2 separate regions of the Homo sapiens genome follow, and region 1 is linked to region 2. Evidence: promoter capture Hi-C in 16 types of primary human blood cells and fetal thymus (Javierre and others, 2016). All regions are on one chromosome and are shown on one strand. The core of a region is centred on a gene start or on the middle of the fragment in contact, and the rest is flanking DNA. Distances in the headings are between cores, read along the strand shown.

Region 1 (6,232 bases), core at 532-3,031, 170 kb after region 2:
ACAGGCATGCGCCACCATGCCTGGCTAATTTTTGTATTTTTAATAGAGACAAGGTTTCACCATGTTGGCCAGGTTGGTCCTGAACTCCTGACCTCAAGTGATCTACCCACCTCGGCCTCCCAAATTGCTGGGATTACAGGCGTGAGCCACCGTGCCTGGCCCAATATCCCTACTTCATAGGGTTGTTGTAAGAATAAAAAGAGAGGCCAGGCATGGTGGCTCACGCCTAATCCCAGCACTTTGGGAGGCCTAGGTGGGTGGATCACGAGGTCAAGAGATGGAGACCATCCTGGCCAACATGGTGAAACCCTGTCTCTACTAAAAATACAAAAATTAGCTGGGTGCAGTGGTGCGTGCCTGTAATCCCACCTACTTGGGAGGCTGAGGCAGGAGAATCGCTTGAACCCGGGAGGCGGAGGTTGCAGTGAGCTGAGATCGCGCCACTGCACTCCAGCCTGGCAACAGAGCGAGACTCTGTCTCAAAAAAAAAAAAAAAAAAGAATGAAAAGAGATATTATGTGAAAGGGTGACAGTGATTGGCACATTGTGTGAAGTAAGTGTTAAATATTGTATGCATGTGCACACAAATAGACAAATGCATCTCTGACCCACCCCTTAACATGTTGCAGTCCTATCTTGCTCAGCCACCCACCTCTGTACGCAGACAGCACTGAGATCTTCTAATTAATACACATTTCAGTCCAAAATGATGTCATTTTCTCTGAAAAACAAATAAACCTCTCTGCAAAATAGTTGTTCCTACTGCTTCTTGGTTTGGGTTTTCTAACTCCCCAGGGTCATAAAACTTATCTCCATGGGTGTTGTGAAGCTTTCCAAGTGAATTAATTGGAGTTTGTTTATTAAAAAATAACAACAGCATTTTCAGATGAGAATGGAAGAGGCTGACGCAGAGTGAAAAACAGAGTTAGATAACCCAGTTCCCCAAAGACGGGGGATCTTGGAGAGAGCTGTGATCCTTCTTTCCTTCCTTTCTCCCCCTCTCTCCGTCTCTCTTTCTGCCCCTCTTCCCCCCACAGTTCTTTTCCTTTTAGTGACAGCAGCAACTACTCAGAGACTCCTAATCCCTTTTGCAGAGGACGGAAATGTTTAGAAAACTTCACTCTGGGTTGGCAGTTCCCCAAAGGGAAGCTCTCTTTCTGGAATATTCCTCTGTGCCCAGAATGAGAGACCTTGTCTTGGGTTGGGTTTCTTTTGGGGTCACGAGTCCCTGCAGCTCCCCTTCCAGTGACTTCAGCTGCCAGCATGGAGTGGAGACCCCAGACTTGGAGGCTGCACCAAGGTCTCAGCATCTTGGAGTCTGTCCAGATCTGGGATGAGGGCCTCATTATTCCTATGCTGGATGTACTCATCTTTATGGGGTATTCTCCACTCCTCCCTCCAGGCTATTCCATTCCCTGGGATTCTGAGGGTTGTTGGATATAGAAGATGGGACCCTTTTTAGGCTTCCTTACAGCCTGGGGCTCTCTCCAAGTTTCCAAGATGAGCTTGCTCACCAGACCCAGTTTTCTGAGACTCAGCATGCCCAGGTCCTCCCAGCAGCTCCAGAGCAGGAATGGGCAGCTCACTCCTTCTTCTGAGCAGAACTGGGGGGTCCTGAGAGTTCCTAAGTCCAGGAGGGAGGGAAGGGTCTCTGAGCACTCACCGGAGCTGCAGCAGAGAGCCAGTGTGACCAGGGTGAGGGTGACAGCGAGTTTCATGGTGGAGGAGGGGGATGCTCTGGCCCGTCTCTGGTTCCGTCTCTGAGTCTGGTGGGCTAGTATGAGACATGCCCAGCAAGGTGCCTTTTATATGCTCTAGGCAGCAGCACCCAGATGGGGAAGGGCAGGGCAAGGGCTCTACATAAGATACTGCACTATTTACTTGGCATTGGCTTGGTGGGATAGGTAAATATTCCCTTTTCTCAACCCAGTTTCTGTCCCCACTGAAACTGAGCTCACACAATGGGCCACTTGGGGGTGGAGGGCCGAGCCCTGCCTGGAGGCAGTGAAGGGAACCCAAGTCAGAGGATGTGGAAACCCAGCTGCCTGTGTCACTCACTGAACCTGGGCACTGGGGCAGTCCAGATCAAGAGAAGCAATTGTGGAGCCCACCTGGAGAAACTGAGGCCCAAGTTCCCTCACAAGTGGCAGGGACAGGACTAGGACTAGGACTCAGGACCCTGACACTCCACTGGGCTCTTTCATAGGCTCCCCTCTGAGGAGGGCGACTGAACCTTAAGCCAGGAAAGACACATGGTTTGGAGCATTGCTGTGGTCAGACTTCGGGGGCCCCTGGATTGAAGCATGTTGAATAAAAGGGACCCTTCCAGAATTCCCATCAGAAACCTGAGCCCTGCCCCAGGCTGGGTCTGTTCCCACCCAGAAGTGCTCTCAAGTCCTGTGCTCCTGATGGCCCAATTGGTGGGACCTTCAGTCCTTATCTCACTTGACCTCCCAATGGCCTTGACACCTGTGACTGCTTCCTTCTCGAACCATTCTCTCTCTTGCGCTCCCACGCCTCAGTTCTTTCCTGTTTTCCTTCTTCTGGCCATTCCTTCTTGTTCTCTTTAGATGTTTATTCTTTACTGTTCTTAAGTGTTGATGGTTCCCAGGCTTTGGCCTTCTCCCCTTTCTTGCCTCCAGTTGCCATTTCCTGGTTCTTCTCCAAAGCCCGGGCCTCATAGCACCTAACCTGGCCTGGTCAAAATCCCCTGACTCGACCTCCCTGCCTCCCTGCTAGCTCTCCTCAGCCATCCTCTGAAAGGCCATCAGAATGATCTTCCTAAAACCCACTGGTCGTGTCCTTCTTCTTGAAACCCTTAAACTCTTCCTTTTGCCTAAAGAATAAAATTCAAGTGCAATTTACAAGGCCCTTGCCCACTGACCTTTGCCTACCATTTGAACTTCATTTCTCCTCTCCCCCACACAACGACTTAGCCCTCTCTTACTATTTGTGGATTCGAGAATGTTCCATGTTTTTTCATGCCTTTCTACCTATGCACAAGCTAAGCCTCATGCCTGAATACACATTTCCTGCCTTGTCCACTTCGCCAAATTCTATTCGTACTTCAAGACTCAATCAAATATTGATCCATTCATTCATCCAATAAATGCTGACCACCTATGATGTGCCAGATGTGGTGCTAGGAGTCGGGAACTGGGGTAGATAGACATGGAGAGGCATTGCGTGGCACTTCAAGAACTCCTCAAAAATAAATAAATAAATAAAAATAAATAAACAAATAAAAGGCCAGACAGGGTGGCTCATGCCTGTAATCCCAGGACTTTGGGAGGCTGAGGCAGGTGGATCACCTAAGGTCAGGAGTTTGAGACCAGCCTGGCTGACATGATGAAACCCCGTCTCTACTAAAAATACAAAAATTAGCTGGATGTGGTGGTGGGCACCTGTAATCCCAGCTACTTGGGAGGCTGAGGCAGGAGAATTGCTTGAATCTGGGAGTCATAGATTGCGGTGAGCTGAGATCACGCCATTGCACTCCAGCCTGGGCAACAAGAGCAAAACTCCGTCTCAGAAAAAAAAAAAAAAAAGAAGGACCCCATTGTGCCTGAGGGCTTCGAAAGGGTTGCTGTGCCTGCAAAGGGGGCATTCAGGGGCCAGAGCACACAAGGCCTCGTTCTAAGGCCTTTACACTCAGAGTGGGAAGCTCTTGAAGGTTTTAATCAGGGAGTGACATGGTCTGATATCCCTTTCCTGATGAACTGACCCTGACTTGGGCAGCTGGGGGAATGGGGTGTTATTTCCTGACACAGAGAAGACTTGGGAAAAATAGGGTTGGGGGTGAAAATAGGGAGTGAAGCCTTCCCCGACAGGTGGTTCTGATGGGTGGTGACTCTCCCCATGGGCCTCTCTTCCCCCTCTGCTTACAGGGCCCATTATACAATATTTTAACTTTGCAATTCTTATTTTCTTGTATGACTCCTTTACTTGACTGACCTCCTTTAGGGCTGAGGCCGCTGTAAGCCAAGGTACGCAACGCTTGCTAAACAGGAATCCCTGGAATGAATCCATGCATGAGGCCTTTGTGCCATGTGACAGTTGAAGGCTGTGGTGACCCCGGAACCGTCCCACTCCGAGACGCCTTAACACCGGTAAGAGCACACGTTCTAAACTAGCAACCAACAAAGACTTGTCAAGTACGTTATGGTGTGTCCTTACAATGAAACGCTGTGTGGCTGAAAACAGAGAAAGAAGATCTTCTGAGCTGATGGTGAAATGATCTCCAAGGCAGACTGCAAAGGGGGAAAAACAAGGCATGAATAGAGCAAAAAAGAACAAAGAGAAGGCTGGGCGCGGTGGCTCACGCCTGTAATCCCAGCACTTTGGGAGGCTGAGGCGGGTGGATCACAAGGTCAGATTGAGACCATCCTGGCCAACATAGTGAAACCCCGTCTCTACTAAAAAAATACAAAAAGCTGGGTATGGTGGCGCTTGCCTGTAATCCCAGCTACTCGGGAGGCTGAGGCACGAGAATCACTTGAGCCCAGGAGGCAGAGGTTGCAGTGAGCCGAGATCATGCCACTGCACCTCCAGCCTGGTGACAGAGCATGACTCCGTCTCAAAAAAAAGCAAAAAGAATCCACATATGCATTTGCTTGTATTTGCATAAAGCATCTCAGAAGTGCCTTCTTTCTTTTAAGTTTCCTTCTGTGTCCCATCATCTGGGCTCTTGAGGTTAGCCCATCTTGAGGATTTCAGGTGTCTGCATCCCTCCCCTCTTAGGGACTGTTGAAAGGTGTAGCCTGCCTGTAACCCCAGCACTTTGGGAGGCTGAGGAGGGCAGATCAACTGAGGTCGTCGAGAGTTTGAGACCAGCCTGGCCAACATGGTGAAACCCCCTCTCTACTAAAAATACAAAAATTAGCCGGGCGTGGTGGCAGGTGCTTGTAATCCCAGCTACTTGGGAGGCTGAGGCAGGAGAATCACTTGAGCCCAGGAGGTGGAGGTTGCAGTGAGCCGAGATCACACCATTGCACTCCAGCCTGGACAACAAGAGCGAAACTCCATCTCAAAAATAAATAAATAAATAAACAAACAAACAAACAAAAGAAAGCTGTGGCCAATGGAGCTGAAATGGGCAAGGAAGATGAGCTGGACCACTGGGGGCACCTAAAGCCCATCCAGTGCCGCCACTAGTGGATCCCTCTGTGGGCAGTGGCTGGTCTGGCCGGGGCAGCTGTGATGGCTGCAGGGGTCTTAGGCAGGAGTCACATCACCCATAGCCTCAGACTCTGCTCTCTACTTTCCACCTTCATGGTGCGAGGTCCTGGGGACAGGATAGCTGGCTCCTGGGTCTTTGAGGAACTTAACAGCTAGGAGGAGAGACAGAGATGGGTGCAACTGATGGGAATGCTCTGTGGGGAGATGGAGGAAGTCAGAGAAGGAAATGGTGCTCCGGGAGTTGAAAGGGGGCTGCCCCCAGGCTGGGCGTGGTGGCTCATGCCTGTAATCCCAGCACTTTGGGAGGCCAAGGCAGGCGGATCACCTGAGGTTGGGAGTTCGAGACCAGCCTGAACAACATGGAGAAACCCTGTCTGTACTAAAAATACAAAATTGGCTGGGCTTGTGGTGGTGCTTGCCTGTAATCCCAGCTACTTGGGAGGCTGAGGCAGAAGAATCGCTTGAACCTGGGAGGCAGAGGTTGCGGTGAGCCGAGATCGCGTCACTGCACTCCAGCCTGGGCAACAAGAGCGAAACTCCGTCTCAAAAAAAAAGGAAAAAAAAAAAAAAAAAAAGAAAGGGGGCTGCCCCAAGAAAGGTAGCTGGGCAGAGGGGAGAGGGCACGTGGAGGGCTGGCATTTGAGCTGGCCTCTGGTGGATGGGTGATGCTGGTGGTTGGGGTGAAGCGGGGGATGTGCCAGGAGGAGGAAGCCACATGAAGGGGGCCCAGGCTCAGGAGGGGACCTGGCCATGGTCCGACATGCATGGGACAGATAAGCACACAGGTACAGTGGGAGTCTGGGGGCACCGGGGGCACTGGCCTTTCAGGTGCGAGGTTGGAGGTTTGCTCTGATTCTGGAAGGTACCTCGACTGCCACCACCAAGTGTCCCAGATAGGCTCTGCCATCTGGCCCTTGGGAGATCCTGCTTGGTGGCGGTGGGTGTTTCTCTCCCCTGCCTCAGGACCCTGCAAAGCCCCTGCTCTTCTGACCCTCTGCTTGAGATAGTGAGGCAAAAAGTGTGTTAGTCAAGGCTTGGAACTCAGAGCTTTTTT
Region 2 (5,744 bases), core at 2,383-4,882:
TTTTTTAAGATTAGAGTTGGCTTCTGGCCTTAGAGGAGACCTGAATGGTGAAGCCCTTCAGAAGCTTTCTTCTTTGTTCTCCAGGCTCCATTCGACTTCCTAAGGCCGCCAAGACTCCATTGAAGATTCACCCTCTGGTGCGGCTGCCCCTGGCAACTATCGTCAAAGATCTGGGTATGGGATGGGGACCAGTGAGGTTGGCATCAGGCTCCCAGTCCTTTCCCTGTCTGACATCTCTCCCCTTGCTTTTTTTCTTCCTCATAGTGTCCTCAGAGATTTAGTCTAACAAACTGTACTTTTGTTGTTTAATAATTTTTTTTGTAAACTATTCAGTATTACTGTACTGATTTGATAAGGTCATACTGATATTTGAAATACTAGTGATAGCTTGCCAGAACATTCCCCCATTGCTACTTTTGGGGATGCCCAGGTAAACTGCTGGTCCAGGGAAGAGAGATGGAAGTAACAAAGGGGAACTGCGTGGGAAGAAAAGGTGCGAAAGTTTTCTGTTTTTTTCCAGTGGCCCAGGCACCCCTGAAACCAAAAACACCTCGGGGTACCAAGACACCGATCAACAGAAACCAGCTGTCCCAGAACCGGGGACTGGGGGGCATTATGGTGAAACGGGCCTATGAGACTGTGAGTTGACAGAAAGGGGTGGGCCAGATTGAGTTGGGTGGGCTTTTGTCTCTCATAGGAGTCTGAGAGGGTCCCTTCCCTCATTGTGCCATCCTACCCCTTTTCCAGATGGCAGGGGCAGGGGTTCCTTTCTCTGCCAATGGAAGGCCTCTGGCTTCAGGGATTCGTTCAAGCTCACAGCCAGCAGCCAAGCGTCAGAAACTAAACCCAGCTGATGCCCCCAATCCTGTGGTGTTTGTGGCCACAAAGGATACCAGGTAAGGCGTCTACCATGGGAGGGGCTGAGAGGGACAGTCCAGGCTGGTGAGTGTGGGGAGTAGGAGTATCAGAGCAAGAGCTCCAGGAAAGTTGTGGATGCAGGGTGGGGATGCCAGAAAAGAATGGGCCAGAAGGCATAATTGCAGTGTGGGGCTTCACCTGGAGGTCTTAATGTTCTCTAAGCCTTTTCTGTTTCCCACTTGCTCTTTCTGGCCAGGGCCCTACGGAAGGCTCTGACCCATCTGGAAATGCGGCGAGCTGCTCGCCGACCCAACTTGCCCCTGAAGGTGAAGCCAACGCTGATTGCAGTGCGGCCCCCTGTCCCTCTACCTGCACCCTCACATCCTGCCAGCACCAATGAGCCTATTGTCCTGGAGGACTGAGCACCTGTGGGGAAGGGAGGTGGGCTGAGAGGTAGAGGGTGGATGCCCAGGGCACCCAAACCTCCCTTCCCTTTCGTGTCGAAGGGAGTGAGGAGTGAATTAAGGAAGAGAGCAAGTGAGTGTGTGTCCCTGGAGGGGTTGGGCGCCCTCTGGTGTTACCACCTCGAGACTTGTCTCATGCCTCCATGCTTGCCGATGGAGGACAGACTGCAGGAACTTGGCCCATGTGGGAACCTAGCCTGTTTTGGGGGGTAGGACCCACAGATGTCTTGGACAGTTTTGGGGGGAGGGTTTTTTAATTTTTTAAAAATTTTGCCTCCCTTTGTGAAAGGGGATGGGGAGGGGAAGAGTAAACAGATAACAGGTGGTGGTACCTGGTTGGGGGAGGGGGGCGTGCACTGCCATGTCTTTTTTTTTTTTTTTTTTTTTTTTTTTCCTAATTGGGGGTTTCTCTTTCTGTCCGGTGTCCGGACTTTCCTAATTGGAGTTTGAGGCCCCTAAGCTGGCATCAACCCCAGGCCACGCTCGCTCTTTCCTTCCCTCCCCTCCCCCTCTGCCTTTTGTACGCCAGTTCTCAGAAATAAAGATCTTTTGTCCGTTTTTTTAACCTCGGATTCTGTAATTGGTTCTTATAGTAACAAATAAAAAGCTGTTTTCTTCAGCTTCTCCTGGCTCAGCTGTTCTTTGCCATGGGTGTGTGTTGTGTGTGTGTTGGGGGTGTCTTTGAGAGGGAAAATAAAGGACAAAGGACAACAAAGGAGGTACAGATGGTTCTTGCCCTGGGAACAGCTTTATGAGATAGGCAGCCTGGACCCAGGCGGCTTGCTCCAGCTAGGCTTCTTGTGGGACCCAAACTGCTCCCCAGCTCCCAGTGGTGCTGGAGCTCAAGAACCATCTTGGCCCAGATTCATTCAAAGGAGTTGAGATGAGCTTTCTGGATGACTGGTGGCCTCCATAGGAAAGGGGAATGGGGGTGTTTCTTCCTCTGTTTCCCACCTCTTACTCCCCTCTCCCTTTTGTTTAAGGAATTCTGGAAGTTGCTAGCAGCCAGGGTAACATGTATACCCCCTTGGGGGTGGTGGTGGGGTTATAGGAGGATCCCCTCACCTAGCTGTGTGGTGTATTTGGCAGACGAGAATTCTACCACTGAACCACCCTAGCACCTCTGGGTGTATGTGTACAGCCTGCTGCTTCAGGATCCTCAAGGCCAGTCTCGATGATATCCCGATCCACTGTAGCACTGTTTCCTGCCTTAAAGGTTTGGGACACTGAGATTAGATGCCTGAGCTGGGCCCATTAGAAGGAACACCTTAGGATAGAGAACAAGAAGTTCAGCCTGCTGTGTGCTCCTTGGGCACTTCCTTTAGAGATGGGAAACGGCCTCAACAGTTGTGACTTGTTCAAGGTCAAAGACCTTGGTGTCTGCCTTAGGTCCACTGCTCTTTGCGCCATTCAAAGCTGTGGGCTGATAACCACAGCACAAGCTGCTGAGCCCATCTGATAGTTCTCTCCACCTCGTTATGGTCCCTGTCCCTAGGGCATCCCCAGCTCCCCGTAGTCCCTCCCTGTCCTGAGCCTACACCTCGGCGGCGTTGGGATGAACTGACAATTATACCAGGAGGGGGTTGACAGCATTCGCCCCCTCCAGTGTCTAAACTCAGTTACTGGCACTCGGTTTTGTCTTGTCGCACTGCTCTGAGGTGCGCCAGTAGCTCTGGCGCCTCCGGCGTACACCACGCAGCCCACTACTGCGGAAGGAATGGGCCTGGCTCCAGGACCTCGTGGAGTCCGGAAGGTGCCCGGTGGTGGCAGAGCTCCCCAACCAGGGCTAGAAGCCGTCGCAGAACACCCGTTTTGCGGGAGGACAGGGGGCGGAGGGAGGGAGTAACAGCCCTGAAAAGGTTGGAAGTCCAGGGACAGCCCTGGGCTCCGTGGGGCAAAGAATTGGAAGCCGCCGATCCTCCGCCTTTATTCGTCGGGTAAATAAGGGTCGAGGGTACAGACGCACGGGTGTCTACTGCGGGGTGAAGGAGCTGCCGCAAGATGCCACCCGGCGCCGGCCTTTGTGGCTGCTGTCATGAATATTCACGATGCTTTGGGCCAATCAACGTCTGAACAGCTTAAAGCACACCAATCGGCTTACCGCATGCAGATAAGCATCGTAACGCGCCGCTTTTCCTGAAACGGGCGGGGACTGGACAGCGGCTAGAAACGGAACCCAGAGTCGAAGGAGCTTGGTTTCCGGAGGAGTGTGTCCGCGCAATTGAACGACTTTATGTCACTTCCTATCGGATCGGCGGAAGTTGCTTCCGAGCGCGTTGAGCTTTGGCGAAGTGGGTTCCGGTGGTGGCAGAGGTGCTTGTGTTTTTGTCGGTACAGGAGAGTCGCTATGGCGGCGGTGGATTCGGATGTCGAATCGCTGCCGCGTGGGGGGTTCCGCTGCTGCCTCTGCCACGTTACTACAGCCAACCGTAAGCGGTGGCTAGTGAGGGACCCGGGGGTGGTTGCGGGCTTTCGTCTTTTGATCCTGGCGAAAGTTAGGGTTATAGGTAGTCAGTCGTTCTTGTCAAGTTGATTGGTAGGGTCTCTCACCTCCGTTTTTCTCTGCAAGTCCGAGGGGATTTGGAGAGTCGGGAAAGTTCCACCACATTACACTCCTCAGTATATGAAATCTCCACAACGCAAGTTTAATTGTTTTATTACTTCTTTAACCATCATCTATTGGACATATGCTCTGTGCCTGGTATTCTGCTGATCTTTAGGGTGGGGGAGGGGGGTTCAGAGATGAAGGAGCTCACCGTCTAGAGAATGAGAAAGTTTCAATGCTTTATAGATATGTTCGGAGAACTGTGGGACCACAGAGAATTAGTAACTAAATCAGAGAAGCCCTACAGAGGACCTACTCAAAGGAGGGGATGGATGAAATAGGTGTGGCATGAATGACTAGACCATAAGGTACCAGTGAGGAAGAGACAGAAGATGGGTTTGGAAAAATAGACAAGGTTCTTGTATGACACACAAGGGGTTCACTGTAACTTCAAATTCCACTTTTTTTTTTTTTTTGAGACAAGGTCTTGCTCTGTCACCCAGGCTGCAGTGCGGTGGTGTGATCTTGGCTCACTGCAGCCTCAACCTCCCGGGCTCAAACCATACCCCTGGCTAGCCTCCCAAGTAGTTGAGTCTACAGGTGTGCACCACCATACTTGGCTAATTTCTTTTTTCTTTTTTTTTTTTTTTTGAGACAGAGTCTCACTCTGTCACCCAGGCTGGAGTGCAGTGGCACGATCTTGGCTCACTGCAAGCTCCACCTCCTGGGTTCACCCCATTCTCCTGCCTCAGCCTCCCGTGTAGCCGGGACTACAGGCACCCGCCACCACGCCCGGCTAATTTTTTGTATTTTTTAGTAGAGACGAGGTTTCACCATGTTAGTCAGGATGGTCTCGATCTCCTGACCTCGTGACCCGCCCGCCTCGGCCTCCCAAAGTGCCGGGATTACAGGCCTGAGCCACCGCGCCCGGCCTACTTGGCAAATTTTTTAGTTTTTTGTAGAGATGGGTTTTCACCATGTTGCCTAGGCTGGTCTCCAATTCCTGGCCTCAAGCGATCTTCCCATCTTGGCCTCCCAAAGTGCTGGGATTACAGGCGTGAGCCAATGTGCCCAGCCCTACTTTTGAAGTCTGGAATCACAGTGTTCCCTAAACAGGGTTTACTTCCATTCTTCCTTTTCACTGTGAATGGCACTATCACTGTTCATCCAGTAAGCCAAGCCAGAAACCTAGGAGTCTTCTTTGGCCCCACATTTACTTTGGTGACATCAAGCAGCTAACTCAATAAAATAATAGCAACGGTTAGTTTTTCAACATTTACCGTGTACCAGACTCTCTCTGCCAAGTGATATATCTGAATAATACCTGTGTGTGAGGTGCTAGATACTGATATTTCCATTTTATATCTGAGGAAGTTGATGCACAGTGAGGCTTCATAACTTGACCAAGGTCTCACACAGGTTGACAGAGCTGGGATTTGAACTTGGGCAATGTAATTTCAGATCCTGCCTTTGACATCACTATATTATACCATGTCCAAAGATGATCCACAAAGTATTCCATGATCCAAATTTTTTTAGTTCTTGTGTAGATGACCTGGATAAGTTACCTGTTAATTTGTTTCCAACTCTACCTAGCACAAATAGGTGGTTTAAGAAATACTTTACTATCACACTGTTCTTTAAGTAAAAATAAACAAAATACTTGTAGTGTAGCCAGTTCTCCTGGGAACCCTCGTCTCTACTAAAAATACAAAAATTAGCCGGGTGTGGTGACACACGCCTGTAGTCCCACCTACTCACGAGGCTGAGGCAGGAGAATTTCTTGAACCTGGGAGGCAGACGTTGCAGTGAGTGGAGACTGCGCCACTGAACTCCAGCGGGGGCGACAGTGAGACTCTGTTTAAAAAAAATAAATT

What was found. The method cuts DNA at HindIII sites, captures the fragments that hold promoters and counts their contacts. A CHiCAGO score of 5 or more calls a contact.
Region 1: the fragment with the promoter of SCGB1A1 here is called in contact with the fragment with the promoter of TUT1 in region 2 in 5 of 17 cell types (endothelial precursors, monocytes, erythroblasts and 2 more); the score reaches 7.0 in endothelial precursors.

Annotation. Positions count from the first base shown.
Region 1 is chr11:62,414,582-62,420,813 of GRCh38, reverse strand. It overlaps SCGB1A1 (secretoglobin family 1A member 1), which reads right to left and starts at 1,781. Exons shown (of 3, transcript NM_003357.5): 1 at 1,664-1,781. The coding sequence starts at 1,718. It overlaps LOC102723765 (a long non-coding RNA gene), which reads left to right. Exons shown (of 4, transcript XR_007062699.1): 2 at 3,964-4,109. RefSeq lists a silencer at 2,463-2,757. The HindIII fragment of the contact is 29,364 bases long and covers 832-6,232 here.
Region 2 is chr11:62,589,411-62,595,154 of GRCh38, reverse strand. It overlaps TUT1 (terminal uridylyl transferase 1, U6 snRNA-specific), which reads left to right and starts at 3,632. Exons shown (of 9, transcript NM_022830.3): 1 at 3,632-3,751. The coding sequence starts at 3,670. It overlaps MTA2 (metastasis associated 1 family member 2), which reads left to right. Exons shown (of 18, transcript NM_004739.4): 15 at 85-174; 16 at 521-639; 17 at 748-896; 18 at 1,115-1,941. The coding sequence ends at 1,280. RefSeq lists enhancers at 3,481-3,710, 3,127-3,822. The HindIII fragment of the contact is 7,198 bases long and covers 67-5,744 here.